Linked DNA regions of Homo sapiens: all the other regions are linked to region 3. The links are contacts of gene promoters, found by promoter capture Hi-C in blood cells and fetal thymus (Javierre and others, 2016). All regions are on one chromosome and are shown on one strand. Each heading gives the region's core, a stretch centred on a gene start or on the middle of the fragment in contact. The rest is flanking DNA. Distances are from core to core; before and after follow the strand shown.

Region 1 (3,575 bases), core at 273-2,772, 400 kb before region 3:
TGCAAATCACGATGCTCACATCCATCACTGAAGGACTCTTACCTGAATGCTAGTGGGGGCCCCCAAGCTCAGGGCGGTGGTCCCAGAAGACAGCATTTCTCTCTACAGGACACCTGCAAAATGTCCATGGTCACTGCTGTGGGAAGGAACACCGGATAATTACCAAGTATTCAAAGTTCCACTGTGAACACGGGGTTAGGCATTGTCTCTGAAATATGCAGAGGGAAAACTCACGGTTTCGAATATGTCAGGGACACCTGAAGCGAAATCGGGAACAACAGGGAGGCCTACACCATCATCACCATCATCACTTACCAAGACAAGACTCAATCATTTCTCACCTGAATAAGTATGAAGGAAATAATGGTGGTAAGGCCTGTAGGGACACATCATCACTCAACTGTGTCTCTGTGACAGTCCCACGGTGCAGGCTGTGGTTTAGGCCCACATCAGCACTTACCTCAGCCAGACTCTGTTTCAAAAAGAAAGAAAACAATAGATAACATGAAAGTCTTACATCCAAGGAATAAATAAAGCTACAGCTTTAAGCTGGATACTTATAAAACACCTAGGTTACAATGGTGGCAATTGGTTGCAATTTGTGTCACGTCATCTCTCATGTGGATGCCTACAGAAGCCCGTGAGATCTACCAGATTTAGAGAAGCCTACCATACATGAAGACCTACAAATTACCCAGATTAAATGCCATTGCTAGGGACACATCATTTCTTTCCAGGGTAACTGTAAAATCCCTTGGTACTACCATTACTAGTAACACATTATTCCTTGATTGGATATCCTCAAAATTCCATGGTCACCATATTTTTAGAGATACCATCATCTCTTACCTGGTTACTTGCAAAATCCCCTGCTCCTTACTGTGGTTATTATCAGCATCATCTCTTAATTACTGACCTACAAATTTCGTCATAACCTTCACAGTTAAGGGCACCATCATGTCTTTACTAGACCCCTGACAATCTCATGGTCATTTTGTGGTTAGGTTCGCCATCATGTCTGGAATAGCACAAAATGCCATGTTCACTAACATGGTAAGAAACATCTTCAGCTCCTATGTGCTTACCTGAGGAAATCCAATTTTGGTACTCGAGTTAGGGCCATCATCCTCTCTTATCTGGATATCTAGAAAACACCATGCTCACCCCCACTGTTAGGTTTATCATCATTTCCTACCTTTATAACTTCAGTATCCCATGTTCAATTCCTAAGTAGAAACACTCATTTCTTACCTGGATATTCACAAATTCCCGTAGACATTACCCTGGATATGGCCACTGTCATCTTTTCACTCTATAGCTACAAAATCCCATGGGCACTATCATGGTTACGGACATGTCTATCATCTGTTTTTTGGATTCCTGCAAAATACTGTGGTCACTACAATGATGAGGGCCATGATCATCCCATACCTGAATCACTACCAAATCCTATGGTCCCTGAATCTCCTGGAGAGACCTCAAGGCTCCTCCCACTCTGACTTCTGCCTGGCTCACCAGCCTCAGTGCTTGCTGTTTCCCTATCCCCCTTTATTATATCAACATTCTAAGCAGTTTAAGTTCCGTAACATTCCTTTTTCTCCTGGTTAGCTGTAACACAGTGTTCACACCTGTCCTTACCATCTAATGAGAACTGATTATTGTCATTTCCTTGTAACTTAGTGTTCCTTGTCCTTAAAATTGGCCATGGTGGGAGTACCAACTAGGATTTTTATTCTAGGAGAGCGAGTTATTAAGCTCTCCTGGATGTGCTGATGAATAAAGTAATAAATAAAAAGAAGTACTACTGAATAGTAACACCTCAATCTTCTCTTTTTTCATTAACTTGATCTGACTTTTGTGGATGAATGTGTCAGTTCACTCCATACCTGGCTTAAAATCTATCGTCTTTCCAAATATTTATACTTAATGAATAAAATGGGTATACACTTTTATTACAAATTAGATAATATTATATTAATGCTGTCCAAGGACTTACATAATCTCAATATGTCCAAAGTTCATAAACTTGCTGAAAAAGAAAAACAATAATTAAGTAATTATTTTTATACAACTGCTGGAAAAAAACTCGTTATTTTAAAAATTAGATGTATTACTAGACCTAGCAAATGAAAATCATTGAGATATACATACTCACTGATATATGTATGTGACGTGTACATATATACACCACACACACACACACACACACACACACATCCTTACCTCACCCATTTGCCAGAGCAAATCTTTTCTTTTTTTTTGCCATGTAAATTTCTTCCTGCACTCTTTGTGGAAACCTAAATTTCCATCAGTGACCGCATTTAGATTCCATGAGATTCTTAGTCACGAATTCCTTTGAAAACCAAGTAAAATGTCAAGAGAGAGAAGCAGCACCCTATAGCCCCTCTTTTTAGTTCCACAGTGTGGGAGCCAATTTTCTTGTAATTCTGGAGAGGAAAAAAATCACCATGTGGCTATAATTCTGAAGACTGTTTTTTTAGATTGCCCAGAGACTAGCAGATGCAGAATGAAATAAATAAAGGCTATTTTTCTCATGTTTGAGGTGGTTTCCAATTAATACTTCTTTATTTCTCTTTGCCACTCCACTTTTCCCCAATCTTTCCTGATAATAGAGTACAAATAACCTAAATGTTCTATGGTGATTGTAGATACAAAACTGATATATCATTAGGCAATTTTTCCTTTTTAAAGAAAATGTTCTATTTTTTCATGATTATTCTTAGCTACTACCTACTTCTACTCACCAAAGTCAACCATCAGCCATGAGAAAGAATATTGAGGCCATAATTAAAACAATGGCAGGGGCATGAACAACACCTGAGAATGCTGCTCTGTCTCCTATATCTACTTCTCATTCAACCCAACCCTTTACTTTTTGAAAATGAAAAATATTACCTTTTTTTCTAGTAATGATTTTGTTAACTTTCATTGATTGACTTCCCATGGAATTATTTCCTGGCTGGCAGGGAATTAAATGTGATTTAAAATTATAATGTACTACCAAGTGAGTTTTTATGTCCAAAGTTCATGAAATCATATTCATTAGGGGCTTTTCCTTCATATTCTGACTTACATGAAGGCAACGTTTTGCAGTCATATGTATTAGTAAGGTGGTGATAGGGTAACTGAAGAGCTTACCTCTCTGTGTTTATCAACATCTGGCGACAAGAGACATCTGACCTCTGGTTTAGGCTAAGCAGAGGACAAAGTCTGGCATTTGGGCTTTCAGTTATGCCACACCCTGACTTAGCAAGGCTCTTTGCCTTTAGTAGCCTTGTACCTTCCCTCAGAGCATGATTTAGATGACTTCCAAAATTAATTCTATATTTTATGTCTCATGTCTTGCCTATTATGTCTGGATATAATTGCAATACTATGTAACTGTTATTTTTATATATGATATATGCAGTGGACCCTTGAAGAACAAGGGTTGCTGTGCAGGTCCACTTTTATGCAGATTTCCTTCTGCCTCTGCCACCCCAAGGCAGCGAGATCAACCTATCCTCTTCCTCCTCCTCCTTTGTCTACTTAACACAAAGACAGTGAGGATGAAG
Region 2 (3,345 bases), core at 430-2,929, 480 kb before region 3:
AAGATGGAGGTTGCAATCAGCCGAGATCATGCCACTGCACTCCAGCCTGGGTGAAAGAGCAAAACTCCATCTCAAAAAAAAAAAAAAGAAAAAAGAAGAAGAAGAAAAAAAGAAATACCTCAGGCCGGGTAATTTGTAAAGAAAAGAGGTTTAATTAGTTCATGGTTTTGCAGGCTGTTATAGGAAGCATGATGCTGTATCTGCTGAGCTTCTGGGGAGGCCTCAGGAAACTTACAATCATGATGGAAAGGGGGAGCAGGCATGTCACATGGCCAGAGCAGGAGCAAGAGAGTGAGGGAGGAGGTGCTACACACTTTTAAACACCCACACCTAACAAGAACTCACTATCATGAGGACAATACCAAGGGGGATGGTGCCAAGCCATTAATGAGAAAACTGCCCCCATGATCCAATCACCTCCCACCAGGCCCCAACTCCAACACTGAGTATTACATTTCAATATGAGACTTGGGCAGGGACACACATCCAAACTATTATCAGTTGGTCAGGAGGCAGAGAGTGCAAGGTGAAAATGTGGGCAAGAGCCTTTATTGTGGTTTCCATTGGAAGAAATGGGTGAGGCAGGGTAAGCAGGTTTAGATCAGCTAGTTTGAATAATTTCAGTGGACTCTGAGGTGTAAGGGCTGTCTCTAGTGTCTGGCACCTAGCCTGGGTGATTAAGGCAGGGTAGTGGTGGCCCAGGGTGTCAGAGCTCAATAGAGGAGGCAGTTGTGGGTGTGGGCTTTGGATTAGTTGGTTTGCATTAGAAAGGCACACTTGCAGTCAAATCCTCTACTATCTCTAGGGATTAGCTAGCCCTTGGAAGAGCTCCAGGGTCACCAAGCCCCCAAGATGTCAAAGCATTAAAAATAGAGAAAATAAAAATACGCTATATATATACCTCTAGATGTTGGAAATGGCAAGGAAAGGGCTTCTTCCCTAGAGCTTCAGAAAGGAATGCAGCCCTGCTAACATGGTGGCGTTAGCCTTGGGAGACTTGCATTGGACTTCTAACCTACAGAATTGTGAGATAATAAATCTGCATTGTTTTAGCCACAAAATTTGTGGTAAGTTGTCACAGCAGTAGTAGGAAACTAATACAATATACTCCTCAAGCTTCCACCCACTAATTTTAGTATCCATTGATGATTCTTGCCTAAATCGATTTTTATTATGACCGTAATTTTTCTTATCCCATTGTTCCTTCTATTTAATAGGTGGTTTTCTACTACAAGGACAATGTTTTTTCCCCTTGCCTCCCCACCATTTATTTATATAAATATGGACACACAGATCCTTCTTTCATTTAATGGGCTATACTCCTTTATTGTCATTCATTCTGATGCTCAAATTTTTCCTAATTTCATCAGTAGGAACACCCTTAAGCTGGCTTCTGCGTCTTTTTGACTTGTCAGCTGGAAAATTTGCATGCGAAGGCCATGTAATGGGATTATTATTAATCTTCTTAAATATGACAACGGTATTAAGGTTATATAGGAGAATGTCCCCTTTCCTTGGGAGATATATTTACGGGTGAAGAGTGATGGTATTATTTGCAACTTACTTTCAAATGGGTCAGCACCTCCAAAAAGGCGATGCTTTTATAGGCTTTGTGCATCTATGTCTCTCTCTGTGTGTGTGTGTGTGTGTGTGTGTGTGTGTGTGTGTGTGTGTGCAGAGAGAGAGAATTAGCAAATTTGGCAAAATGTCAAAATGATCAAATCTAGGTGGAGGATAACCAAGTGTTTATTGTGTTATTCTTTCAATTTTTCTGCATGCTTAAAATTTTTTACAATAGAATTTAGGGGAAAATGCAAACAAAGAAAAATAGCCTTAAAAAACAGCTGATTCATTGTTCTCAGGACATAGTTGTGCATATAGCACATACTTCATGATCTTTCCCTTGGGTCCAGGGTACAAAAAGGATAATTTTTTTAATGAACATTTTAAAGTGTCAGCTTAAATCTGGCCTCTGTGATTTAATTAAATGGAAAGTTTGCCCATAAAGTGCCTGAAAGCAATGACCTCATTAAAGTATGTAAACACTGTTCCTCAGATCTCATTTACACTTTTTTATTTGTGCTTATGGACAAAGTTATTTTATAATCCAATCCCTGTCTAAATCACCATAAGTTTTAGATTAGCAATGACCCATAAAGGGAGTTTTAATATGTAGTTTATAGAAATCCACATTCCAATGAAAATCCAACCAAAGGGGAATGAAAATGCAATGCAAAGCTTATTAAACTATTTGAAGTTTCTTCTACCTAATTTTTCAGAGCTTTTTATACATGACTAGACTCATACATTTATAATCATTGAAGTTTGGCAGGTACAGAGAGCTGATATGAAGTGTTGCAAGAAAACTGATGAAGGAGCCACCCAGACAGCTGCCCTGTGGTAGCTTTAAAATAGGTCAACACATTTGAAACTTTTCCCTTTCAAGGGTGGAGACTCATTCTCTTCCACTTGAGCATGGGCTAGACTTAGTGACTCACTTCTAACTAATAGAATATGGCAGCAGTGGTGGTGTGTGGCTTCTGAGACTAGATGGTGTCAGCATGGCAACTTCCTCTTTGCTGTCTCTCTTATATCATAGCTGCCATGCCATGAAGACACTCAAGCAGCCCTATGAAAAGGTCCACTTGGGGAGGAACTGAGACCTCTTGCCAACAACCATGTGAGTAACCCGTCTTGGAAGACGATCCACCAACCCCAGTCAAGGCTTCAGATGACTGTCACTCCAGCCAACATCTTGACTACGACCTCATGAGAGACTCTGTGCCAGAACCACCCAGCTAAGCTGCTCCTGAATTCCTGACCCCCAGAAACTGAGATAATAAATGTTTATTATTTTGAGCCACAATATTTTTGGGTAATTTGTTGGAAGGCAATAGATAACTAATACAGGCTCTCATAATGTCATTTATTTGGGTCCAGTCAGCATGCTTTAGGATCTGGGAGTTTTTTTCCTTCATCCATAATCTAACAGCAATATAAGGAATACAAGAAAAAGAAACTAAAGAGACTTCCCTGGATTCTCCTGGTATTGGTGGATGTAACATTTGACTCTTTACTTCTTCCCTGCTGAGTCTGAAGGGCTTTTGCTTGAAGTAATTTGCCATTTTGGAAGAGAAGCACTATTTGGCTAGTGTGTGTTTTAGTGTCAGAAAGTCCCTTAGGAAATGAATAAACCCAGAGTCTCCAACTCACTTAATAAAGCATTGCATTTAATCCTGCAACAATCCTGTGATGTAGGCACACTTGCCTGATTTTAAGGCTGAGGGAATTGAAGTATTATGTGTCAGGGATACACACAAATGTGGGGGAATATGAAAGGTCTTG
Region 3 (3,576 bases), core at 256-2,755:
AAGTGATCCGCCCACGTCGGCTTCCCAAAGTGCTGGGATTATAGGCGTGAGCCACCGGGCCCCGGCTATTTACCACATTCTTACAGTACAATTATACTGGCTATCACAGCAGCTTACAAATATCAAGTAGGAATTGGATAATTTCAACTGCAATCCCATATGTGTCATTGGCCCAGTTGACCGAATTCCATATGGGCCACCTACAGTCATTTTGTAAAGCATTGTAAAATTTTAGTGCAGAATTAATTTACCTTCAAGATCCATAATGAACATTAGGTGGGTATAAAAATTAACTTCAGGCCGGGCGCGGTGGCTCATGCCTGTAATCCCAGCACTTTGGGAGGCTGAGACAGGCGGATCACCTGAGGTCAGGAGTTCGAGACCAGCCTGGCCAACATGGAGAAACCCCGTCTCTACTAAAAATACAAAAATTAGCCAGGCGTGGTGGCACACACCTGTAGTCCCAGCTACTTGGGAGGTTGAGGCAGGAGAATCGCTTGAACCCGGGAGGCGGAGGTTGCAGTGAGCTGAGATCACGCCACTGCACTCCAACCTGGGTGGCAGACCCATTAACTTCAAAAGACTTAAGTGTACTTTAAATTGTTGTCAAAATTAACTCCAAGGACTTTGGGGAAAAATATATAGTACATTTTGGATGAGACTCTCTTGAAATCAGACTTTTCAATTGCTCTTAAACCTCATTGAATTTTCTAGAAAATGTATCATTTAAAAAGAAGTGTAAAGTTCATTTTTAGTCTGACAGTTCTTGACAATAACAAAAACGGACCACCTGCTATGTCTTGACAGTGTAAAATAATAATTACAGAAATTGTAGCATGTTATTAGGTTGGTGGAAAAGTAATCACAGTTTTTTGTACCAACCTAATTATTTAAAACTCTGACCAAGAAAAGTAGCAATTAATGTCGAACTTTAAGCCTCCAACAGTAGGTTAAGCTCAGGCTTCACTAGGATCTAGCAATTGACCTATGTATGTGAAGGAAGAGAGTTTGTCCTTTTCTACAGAAATAGCAAAGGAAGAATATTTCCCTCACCTTCTCTTCCAACCCTGTTGTTCTGGAAGAGGATATTGTCTCTGGTAGGGCCAGTAAGTAATATTTCCAGTTCAATTTCTAACTTGAAATTTTCTTATTTTCCTGTCCAAATTAGTAAGATCATCACTGCATTTGATTTTCAAAATTTACTCTCTAATTCCTTTATACTAACGTGTGCACAAATTAAAGATCATAGCAAGCCGCTTTACCTGCATTTACAGTTGTTTCGATCTTTAATTTTTATCCTTATTTGCCCATTTATTACTTTCTAGGCTCACACCATTTGCCACCAACCCAGATTTCTGGGTCAGAAACCCCATATTCTGTTGGAAAGCTTTGCTAAAGAAATAGAAGTGGCTTACCATGTTTCTGTTGTTCTAATTTTTCATTCCGTAACTTGCAGCAGCGCAGAATGGTACCCTCTATGCAGGAGGTGGCCGAGAAGAGAAACTGGCTAACTTCCTGAAATGGCTCTATTTACCATCAGCAGAACGTAGCGTGTGTTTTACAGAAGTTTACATGAAAAGAAGGGAACTTGTGATTTCTTAGCTGTTGCCAAATCATTAATTGACTGTGCTTTAAAACTTTGAAACTGAAGTTATGGGAAAAAGTCATTTATGAAATGATTTAAATACAACCCAAATCAGACACACACGACGTATTTTTGTTAGTTTTTGTGTATTTGTGTGTACAGGGGAGAAAAAGGGAACATTATTCCATTCACTAAGAAAACTTCAGTGTATTCTTTTTTAAAAAAGTTACCATAAATTTGTACTGAACTTCGGATTTCTCAAACTCGTCTTCCTTGTGTAATTCACAGATGTAGGCGAATAACATGAACATTGCTTCATCTTTGTTCCACAAGTTTCTGAGACAGCACCGGTAGGTATGGGTCTCCCTCCCACTGGGCTGTGGCCGCAAAGCGAGCATCTTTCTCCTGGGCGCCCCATGCCTCCTCCAGCACCTGGCATGTAGTATAAGCTCAATGAGTGTTCATTGTATGAACGAGTGAGTCAATGGCTGAGCATTCGTGAGGCTGGAAAATTTAATCTTCCCGATTTAGTCTGATAAATGGATTCCATTTTATGCTCGGAGAGCAAGGGCCTCAAAAGGTGTAACCAAGAGCAGAGGTCAGCAAACTGCAGCCTTTGAACGAAATCCGGCCCAGAAGTGAAAACATTTTTAGATGAACATTGGCAATGGATTTGCTGATACAGAACACTAACTTTAAATTCCAACCAAGCAGAATGTTAGCACCTCCAAAAATGATTCCATTCTTCTCATTATTAAACCTATACTACAAAAAAACTGCCTTCGATTATTATTATTACATTTTGAGTTTCATCAATTACATAATTGTGGAAATTTTTATTTTACTATATAAGTAGCTACATAATATGCCAAATTTGCTTCTTGGCCTGTAAAACCTAAGATATTTGCCATCTGGCCCTTTACAGAAAAAGTTTGCTGACCCCTGGCCACAAGAATAAAGTTTAGAACGGGATGTGATATGTTTCATCTTGCCTTACACCCCAGGAGTGGGAGAAAACCAAATTGGCAGCAGGGTGGGCAGAGATGACATCCATATATAAATGGACTGTGGAACACCTTGTTATGAAGGAAGGCCTGTCAGCAGTCAAAGAATGGCTTGGGTGGGTATACCTAGATGGACCTCTAAAGATCACACCCTAAGGGAATTCAAGACCTGGTGCATGGTTTGAGAGGTGATTCCTGTGACATCAGAGAGTGCAGCCTGGGCCTTCATGGGCAAACCAAAAACATTTGTGATTGTAAACCCAAAGGCCTCGGCTGGCCGCATCCAAGTCTCTTGGTTTCCCTCCAAACATTTGCTTGGAAATAAAGTAAAGAAAGTAAGTAAGAATGGATCGAGTGCAGTGGCTCACACCTGTAATTCCAGCACTTTGTAGAGGCCGAGGCAGGAGGATCACTTGTGCTCAGGGGTTTGAGACCAACCCGGGCAACATGGCAAAACCTTGTCTCTAAAAAAATACAAAAATTAGCCAGGCATGGTGGTGTGCACCTGTAGTCCCAGTTACTCGGGTGGCTGAGGTGGGAGGATCGCTTGAGCCCAGGAGGTGGAGATTGCAGTGAGCCATGATAGTGCCACTGCACTCTAGCCTGGGTGACAGAATGAGACTTTGTCTAAAAAAACAAACAAACAAACAAACAAAAAACAGCGAAGTAAAAATGACTTCCAGCCGTTGACTGAGCAAGGATCCTTGGAACTGGAGAGTTTGTCAGCTTTCTAGAAAAGCGAGACTCACATACCCTGGCTTCTAGGCCACCAAGTGTCAGCCAATTGTAGACCAGTCAATTGGCCTTGTAAAGCATGCTTGTATACGTATATATATATATGTGTGTGTGTGTGTGTGTGTGTGTGTGTGTGTATCATCATGTATATATGATATATATATATTTTTTATGTACATATGCATGTTTATATGTATATATACACACATACAGTCTAGTATCTATGTCAAGCAAACTCATAAAAATGAGTTA

Evidence for each region. The method cuts DNA at HindIII sites, captures the fragments that hold promoters and counts their contacts. A CHiCAGO score of 5 or more calls a contact.
Region 1: the fragment with the promoter of GS1-600G8.3 here is called in contact with the fragment with the promoter of TLR8 in region 3 in 7 of 17 cell types (total CD4 T cells, non-activated CD4 T cells, naive CD8 T cells and 4 more); the score reaches 8.2 in total CD4 T cells.
Region 2: a contact is called between a fragment that was not itself captured here and the fragment with the promoter of TLR8 in region 3, in 1 of 17 cell types (non-activated CD4 T cells). The highest score is 6.2, in non-activated CD4 T cells.

What each region holds. Positions count from the first base shown.
Region 1 is chrX:13,308,599-13,312,173 of GRCh38, reverse strand. GS1-600G8.3 (unknown transcript) reads right to left here and starts at 1,522. Exons shown (of 17, transcript NR_046087.1): 1 at 1,432-1,522; 2 at 1,252-1,318; 3 at 1,086-1,144; 4 at 461-472; 5 at 316-341; 6 at 43-113. The HindIII fragment of the contact is 25,262 bases long and covers 1-3,575 here.
Region 2 is chrX:13,387,072-13,390,416 of GRCh38, reverse strand. It overlaps LOC124905248 (a long non-coding RNA gene), which reads left to right. Exons shown (of 2, transcript XR_007068395.1): 2 at 2,600-2,866. Among named protein-coding and RNA genes, the nearest start is that of LINC01203, 54 kb to the right of the region's middle. RefSeq lists a silencer at 2,381-2,480. The HindIII fragment of the contact is 1,122 bases long and covers 1,119-2,240 here.
Region 3 is chrX:12,904,549-12,908,124 of GRCh38, reverse strand. TLR8 (toll like receptor 8) reads right to left here and starts at 1,505. Exons shown (of 2, transcript NM_138636.5): 1 at 1,416-1,505. The coding sequence starts at 1,418. TLR8-AS1 (TLR8 antisense RNA 1) reads left to right here. Exons shown (of 5, transcript NR_030727.1): 4 at 1,874-1,935. The HindIII fragment of the contact is 3,594 bases long and covers 1,390-3,576 here.